Regions from separate parts of the Homo sapiens genome. Here region 1 is linked to region 2. The links are contacts of gene promoters, found by promoter capture Hi-C in human tissues and cell types (Jung and others, 2019). All regions are on one chromosome and are shown on one strand. Each heading gives the region's core, a stretch centred on a gene start or on the middle of the fragment in contact. The rest is flanking DNA. Distances are from core to core; before and after follow the strand shown. Region 1 has its middle 38 kb from the start of LINC01070. Region 2 holds the start of SPACA7 (sperm acrosome associated 7).

What was found. Contacts are between HindIII fragments. The study calls those that stand out against the background at their distance.
Region 1: a contact is called between a fragment that was not itself captured here and the fragment with the promoter of SPACA7 in region 2, in 2 of the 25 tissues and cell types used here (dorsolateral prefrontal cortex and spleen).

What each region holds. Positions count from the first base shown.
Region 1 is chr13:112,233,766-112,237,741 of GRCh38, forward strand. No RefSeq gene overlaps it. Among named protein-coding and RNA genes, the nearest start is that of LINC01070, 38 kb to the left of the region's middle. The HindIII fragment of the contact is 3,897 bases long and covers 184-3,976 here.
Region 2 is chr13:112,374,417-112,378,596 of GRCh38, forward strand. SPACA7 (sperm acrosome associated 7) reads left to right here and starts at 1,939. Exons shown (of 7, transcript NM_145248.5): 1 at 1,939-2,063. The coding sequence starts at 1,970. LOC105370373 (a long non-coding RNA gene) reads right to left here and starts at 1,862. Exons shown (of 3, transcript XR_944295.3): 1 at 1,708-1,862. RefSeq lists an enhancer at 3,391-4,180. The HindIII fragment of the contact is 14,702 bases long and covers 1-4,180 here.

The DNA.
Region 1 (3,976 bases), core at 882-3,381, 140 kb before region 2:
GTCTTGATGTGTGGCTGGGCTGTTCCAAGCCCTCACCATTATGTTTCTTGTTTAGAAACATCTAGGTTCTTCCTGCTCCTGGTCAGTCTCCTCAAATGTCTGTGTTGAGGTATTCATTAGAAATGCATTACATCTATAGAGCCAAGTGACGTCACTGACACCATTGTGATACTGAGTCTTCAAATGGTGGATGTTTATTTAGGTTTTCTTAATGTCACTGAACAGAGTGCTGCAGTTTTCTGCCGTAGCCGCGCATTGCTTGTCGGTTTATTCCCGAGAACTGTGCTATTTAATCCAGGCTAAGTCACACCGTAGTAACTGCTGTGTCAGAGCTCAGTTCTTAAAATGATAAAAGTTTATCTCTTGCTTTAACTGTGGGCTCCACTCAGTTTGTGACCCACAGTGACAGAGAAGACACCATCTCAATTGCTAGTCGCAATTTTATCCAGAAGGAAAGGAGCCTTCAGACTTCCGCCTGGAGGTGACACATGCACTTCCACTCACATTTCCTGGGCTGACGCCCGTCCCGGGGCTACCCCTGCTCTGCCAGTGTGTGTGGAGAGGGGAGGTGTTTCGGTTGGCAGCACTAAGCCCTAGCGATCCACACTTCTGGCCAGCAAGCACTGGGTCCCCTCCCTTCCTCTGTGCAGCCCAGCCCCATATCCCAGGGTGGTGTCCTGTCTCTGCATCCAGGGCTGAGTCCAGGATCTTTGAGCAATGCCCGGTAGCTTCTTCATCAGGCCCAGATCAAGCCCCTCAGAGCCCGGGGATCTGTGACCCAGCAAGTGTAGGATGTGTGCCCCTAACATCCAGTTGGCCATATAGGCAACCATGATGAATGGCCCCACTCGGAGCAAGGAGGACAGGCCGGGCCACAGTCACTGGTCTACAATAACCAGGCAGATGTGGTGTGGACCCGCTCCGGGCTGTCTCTTGATGAGGTCCTGGTCCTGCTCCTGGGGGTGGCTTGCTGCTTGTCGCCCTTCAAGGCACTGGGCCCCTCCTCTTGGGTGGTTCTTCTTTGGCATGGTTTGGACATTTGTCCCCTCTCAATCTCATGTTGAAATGTAATCACCAGTGTTGGAGGTGAGGCCTGGCCGGAGGCGATGGGGTGGATCCCTGATGAACGGCTTGGCACCATTCCCTTGGTGATGACTGAGTTCACGTGAGATCTGGCTGTTTAAAGTGTGTGGCACCTCCCCCTTCCCTCTCTTGCTCCCACTCCTGCCATATGAAGCACCTGCTCCTACTTTGCTTTCTGCCATGATTGGTAGCTCCCTGAGGCCTTCCCAGAAACCAAATAGATGCAGGCATCATGCGTGCACAGCCTGCCCAACAGTGAGCCAATTAAATCTCTTTTCTTTATCAATTACTCATTCTCAGGTCCTCCTTCATAGCCATGCAAGAGTGGCCTAACAAACACATCCCTTTTCCATTCGCCTCCATGGCCACATTCACTGTGGGCATCAGATGCACTCCCTCCCAGACCCCTTCTTGTTTACAGATGGTGGATGCCAAGGGTCACTTTCATTCCCTAAAATCTTAGTCTCTCTTAGCCACAGTGTGTGGTTCTTTGGCAGTAAAGTCTTCAAGAGCTTAGTGAGCTGCTTCTCTGTTTGGTTCCACACAGCACACACATCAAGAGCTGCATGCTCAGCGACTCTGTAGGTCTTCCTAGTAGACTTGCCACGTTCCCTGGCTTCCTTACTCCTGTGGCCCTCAGCAGATAGGACTGACCTGTCTATTGGTATCATGGGCTCTGCTGGGAGGCTGAAACCCTTGCCCTCTTCCGGGAGCCACTTAGTCCTTGCTAAAGGAGTCTCTAACCAAGGCAGCCTTTGGGGTTCCCTCATGTGCTAGTCTATTAAGAGATGTTAACAATGAGTCTAGGGACCAAGCACTTGACCAGCCTTGCCTGAAAGGCTGAGATCCAAACAGTCGTGGCAGTTCAAAGCATTTCCAAGTTTACTTTTTACGCTATCAAGGGAGAAGCAACTGTCTGTTCCAATCCTACGAGTCCCTGAATTTGAGGGCTCTCTGCCCCTCTGAGTCCTGCCTGCCACTGACAAGCTTATCCCTTTCTTGTAATACTTTGTTGTACAGACACTGCCAACTGCTGTGGCTAGAACTGTGTCCCCAAAAAGATATGACCGAGCCCTAATTCCCAGTATCCGCGAATGGGATTTTTTTTGGAAATAGTACCTTTGCAGATGTAATCAAGTCCAAATGAGCCACATGGGATTAGGGTGGGCCTAAACCCAGTCACTGGAGTTCTTATTAGAAGAGACGCAGAGACTCTCTGGGAAGATGCCACATGAAGATACAGGCACGGACTCACAGGGAGAAGGCCTTGTAAAGAAGGAGGCAGAGACCGGAGTGGGGCTGCCACAAGCCGAGAGAGGCCAGGTCCCTCTGGGAGCCTCCAGAAGCTAGGAAGAAACACAGAAGGGCTCCCCCAGGTCCTTCTGTGGCAGGGCGGGCTGCTGGCCACACCTTGATTTTGGACCCCTGGCCTCCTGAACTATGAGAGAATACATGTCTGTTCTCGGAGCCAGCCAGTGTATGGTACTTTTGCTACAACAGTGCTAGGAGACCAGTGCACCAACCAATACCTGGTAGCAACACACATAACACACACGTGACCTGACTCTCTGGCTCCTCCAGAAGGACCTTCACCAAATGCTTTCTTCAGCACGATGTAGATGGCATCTTCTCAGCCTTCAGTAACAGTTGCCGGTCTTCAACTCACTACTAAGACAATGCCAGGTATTTGAGGATTATTTTTTACCCTAGCATCTTTCTTCTATTTCTAGACTAGTGAGGATAAGGGTAGATTTCACTGCAGTAACAAACAATGCCAAGTCTCAGTGACCTCAAGCAACAAATGCCCACTACGCATCTTTGCTTCTGAATACACAGGCTGCCTGGTGACGCTGCTCCAGCCAGGACCGGGGCTGATGGGGCAGCCCCACGTCAAACCTGCTGCCACTGCAGCGGGAGGCTGAGAACCGCTCACTGCCTCTTAATACGCACCCCTTCTGCTCATGGGGCCACACTAAATTCAGTGGGGAAGGCCCATGTGATCCCCTGTGTGCTTGGCAAAAGAACTGGAAATATTTAGTGAACATCAACAATCACCACACAAATTAATGATTTTGTTGTTGCTGCTGCTATTGCAAATGGTTTCTTTGAAAGTGGTATTTTCTACCTGTATTTTGCTGGTGAGTAAAAATGCAGTTGACTTCTGTACTGTGATCTTGATTTTGATTATGCAACCTTGCTTAGCGCTTGTGAAATATAAATATTTGTGCATTCTGCTAGGTTTTTTATGTAGATAATCACATTGTCTGCAGATTCCGACGGTATGTTTAAAAATTCTTTTCCTTATTAGCCCGTAAATCTTTTCTTTCTTCTCTTGACTGAATACACCAGGTAGGACTTTAAGCAGCACATTGAGTGGAGTTGGTGATAGCTGGCATCCTTATTTTATCTCTGATTTTAAAGGTAACATTTCATAATTGTTTACTAAGAATGACCATTGTTGAAGGCTTGCAGTACAGACCCTCAATTCAGGTGAGGAAAATTCTTCCTATTTTTAATTTAGTGAAAGGTTAGCATTATATGATGTCGACAATTATCAAAGACTTTTCCTTCTCTATTGCAATAACTGTACTTTTTTTAAAAGTCTGTAAGTATTACAAATTAAGCTTATATATTATCTAAAGTAATAGCTTGCTTGGATCCCTGAGTTAAACACGGCTTGGTCAAGATGGATGATCACTTTACACACTGCTGGCTTAGGTTTGCTAATGTGCCAGGCCCAGGGAGGGAGCTTGCTGAGGCACCGGATACACTTTCTTGAATAAAACTGATGCAGCCTCATGCTCATGGCTCCTATGGGTTAAGACATTGTTAATTACAAGACACAGCATCCATTTCATAACCGATTTTCAGGGGGAAACCCTTGCTGCATTAC
Region 2 (4,180 bases), core at 689-3,188:
GTTGTAAGCAATCACACATGGGCTGTATCAAGTCACCGAGCTTCGGGCAGCCTTGAGAATGACTCCTTCCTCGACCAAATCAGCGAGGCTCCTCTGACCCCTCTTCTCAACGAGGCCTCGCCCCCAGCCCTGATCAAATTCCTCATCCTCCGCCTTGAGGTGGAAGTCCCTGGCCTGCCTTAGCCAGACATCCCTCCTTGGTGCAGTGGGTGTCGTTCGACAGGCAGCAGTGCAGGGTTCTGCTGTCATGGGAGCTCTGGCTGCTGTCCGTTTGTACATTCAGCCTCTTAGGCCCATGCTGCTGGCCCCAAAATGACATTCTGAGTAGCAAGAGCCTGGGTTATAGAAGCAAGCATCTCACTTGGACCATTCATTAACTCAGAGTGGGACTTGGAACCCACTGGGTTTCTGTAAATGTCAACCATGCTTAGTGTGCCTTTATGGACACGCTGAAAATCTGAAATATACTCCCCACACCTTGAGGTAGATTGGCTACCACTGCATCTATCAAAAGGAAAACCTGAGCAAAAATGTGCTGTGGGTTCCCATACAAGCAATAAAAATTAAAGAGCCAGAGACCCATGGTGGGTCAGCCATCCTTGGGGTCCTGACCAGACCTCGGGGGCATTGTTAGTCTTGTGCGTCCAGGGCCCCAGTGATATGGTTTGGCTCTGTGTCCTCACCCAAGCATCATCTTGAATTATAATCCTCATAATCCCACGTGTTGAGGGAGGGACTTGGTGGGAGGCGATCTGATCATGGGAGTGGATTCCTGCATGCTGTTCTCATGATAAGTGAGTTCTCACTAGAGCTGATGGTTTTATAAGTGTTTAACAGCTCCTCCTTCATGTACTCTCTCTCCTGCCGCCTTGTGAAGAAGGTGCCTGCTTCCCCTTCCGTCATGATTGTAAGTTTCCTGAGGCCTCCCCAGCCATGCAGAACTGTGAGTCAATTAAATCTCTTTTCTTTATAAATTACCCAGTCTCAGGGAAGTTCTATATAGCAGTGTGGGAACAGACAAACACACCAGCCCTCTCCACCATGGAGCTGGGATCTGAGGGCTGTTCACCTGGGACCCCACCACCGGCCGAGTCTAGACCAGCTGCCCCACTCTGAGCCCTGGATGTAGGAGTCAGTCCAGGGGTGAGATAGGATCCAGGGGAGCCAACCAGAGTGACTCCTTTGGGGTTTTGTCACTGCACGGATGGAGAAAGCTCTAGAAAGTCTAGGAGATAGAGCTGGGAGGATGATAACATGGAAATGCAGCCATGTTCTCCTCTCGTGATTAAAGTCTCACTGCCAGGGAAAGATTGGGGCTGATGCTGAGAAAGAAGGTGTGGGGGAAAGGAGGCTGAAACCTGGGTCATCTGTCTCCTGTTCTTCATGATCCTGGAACTTTGAGGGTGGGGGAGGGTGGGAGGGGACATGGGGCCACGGGCCTCTGTTCTTCAAGGCTCTGTTCTTCAAGGGACCTTTAAGAGGTGATTAGACCCTCTGGATCTGTCGGTTCTGGCACTTGCTCTGTAATTCAACCACCTCTCCAGCATCCTTCAAATACGCCTCTTTCCATGGGAGCAGATTTTGTTGGCTTTTGGCCACTGGCCCTTAAGTCCTGATTAGTATCTACCCCTTGAGTCCTCAGGGTGCTCAGGACAGAGGAAGTCACCAGAACAGGCAATAAGAAAGAGTGGAGAGGATCTCTGTTACCTTAAGACCCCAGTGAGCCTCCTCCCTGCTTCCCAGTCACAGACTCTGGACAGAAACCCTGCCCCCCGCCCCTGGCAAGATGCCAGCTCCCTTCCTGGTCCTGATGTCACAGGTCCCTGGACATGACCTCCCCACCAGGGCAGGACCCCAGCTCCCTTCCTGGTTGTGATGTCACAGGTCCTGACATTCCACAGTGTCCTGGAGACCAAGGATGGGAAACTGTCAACCTTCAGAACGTCCTTCTCCCTCAGCTGGAGGGAGCATGGCAGTGAGCCAAGGAGACGGGACCCTCTGCTTTGTCCTCCTGCTGTGCTGTTGGCAAGAAACTGAGCTCCGGCCGAGAACCGTGATTCCAGGTAGGGCCCCACAGGGATGTCTCAGCAGAAAGAGAACTGAACCAGGTGGGGAGCGGCGGCCTCTTCTCCCATGGGTTCCTCTTATTCCCAACCTACATGAATTTACCATTTATTCCTTGGGGAATGAATGTAGCTGAAAAGTCTTTCTATCTTTGAAGACTTTTTAAAATCTAGATGTCCATAGGAAAGTTGCAAATGTTACTTATTTTAACTTTTTATTATGGAAAATTTCTAACTGGGAAGAATATCATGAACCTTCGTGTATTCACCCTCAGGTTCAATTATTGTGCATATTTTGTTTTTTTCTACACACACACACATACACACTCCACACCACATACACACACTTTTCTTGTTTGGGGAGTATTTTAGCACCATCCCAGATGCCTTACCACCTCATGTAAAACATTTTCTTGCGAAGAGATAAAAGCATTATCTACAATGTCATAATCAGACTAACATAATTACCAAAAGCCTTTATCTCAGCTCATACCGTTAAAAAATATTTGTGATGCTTGCTAAAGATGGGCAGGCAGCCTTTATTCAAAGGGGGCTACTACCATGGTGTCTCATAATAGTGGAGAGTGGGCTCAACTCCAAATACAGGGAAAGTGGAGATTTGCAGCCAAGGATCAGGGTGGGTCAGTGGATGAACATTGCTAAAAGGTAGGAGAATTCTTTGCTAAACTGATTCAGCAAAGGCCAAGAGGGCTTTTATAAACAAAAATGAAGCATTTATATTTTTTGTCCCACCTGATTACTCTAGAATTTGGATATTATGATTTTCAGGACCATACAATTGTTTGCATAAGTTTAATAAAAATTGATTATCCTTGCAACAGGACACAAAGGTCTGCTATCTTTGAAGACCTTTTAAAATCTAGACATCCATGAGAGAGTTGCATATGTTACTTATTTTAACTTTTTATTATGGAAAATTTCTAACTTGGAAGAATATCATGAACCTCCATGTATTCACCCTCTAGTTCAATTATTGTGTATATTGTGTTCGGCCAAACAGGAGGCCAGACCTGAAAGGAAGCCAAGGCAATAAAATAATCAAAGATGGAGGGTGAGGAATTTGATCAGATATCAAGGGTGACCAGGCCAAGACTAGGGGATTTCCACTAAAAGACTTCACAGGATTCCTACTAAACATGGGGAAAAGCAGACAAAAGCAGAAGCTAGGGTCAAGGCCTAGTCAAAGAGAAGACTCAGAGGAGCCTGGCATGAGGTAAGTCAAGGAGCGAGGCTTTCTCATTCCCTCCTCTTGTTCAAGAAAGAAGAGACATTCCTTTTCTCTTTGAACAAGATAAGTCCATGTTTCATCTGGTGGAGGATGTGTGCTGGATGGTACAAGTAGTCGGGAATTTAATGAGGGGAATGTCTACGAAAAAGAGAAGAAAAACAAAGATTTATAGTTGGAAACACAGTTTCCGAATCCAGAGGGCAGTCTGTTGAGAAGATTTCTGGATTTTGGGCTCAAGGTATCTTCAGCCGATGGGGCAAGGATGGATTTCCTAGTTTGCAGGGGGTGTGTCCTTGGTGACATCATGACCATCAGAGCCACAGTCATGGTTATGCTGGGGGCAGAGCGTGGATGTGTCCAGCTTCAGCCTTTCCAGATGGTCCCACGGAAGGCCTGAGTTGTCAGGCTTTAGTTCTCACTAACACCCAGTCAGGAGGGCAGAAGAAAGACTGGAAATGTTAGCCTGGGAACATTGAAGGACTCTAAAAGGCTTCAGGATCCAGTCCAGTTTACAGGTAGATAACAAAGTAGAAAGTAAGGTGGAGTTTATCAAAAGATAAAAAAAAGTAGAATACACAGGGTTATAACTCACAAGGGTGTGCTACCATTTTTCATTAAAACATAAAATATGGCTCTATGGTCACCCTCTTTTTTTGATCAAGATAACCAAAGTAATGCTATTCTTGTCTCAAAAATATATCACATCTTACAAGATTTGGTCTGATTATTTACATAAGTGCAGCAAGAATGGTAATGGACCACATAAACTGAGTTTTCTCTGCTGGAGCTTTTTACAAGGAATCTCAGATTAGATTTTTTAAAAGCTTTTTGAGGCTAGGAAGCCCAGCCAAAAACTCACCATCAGACT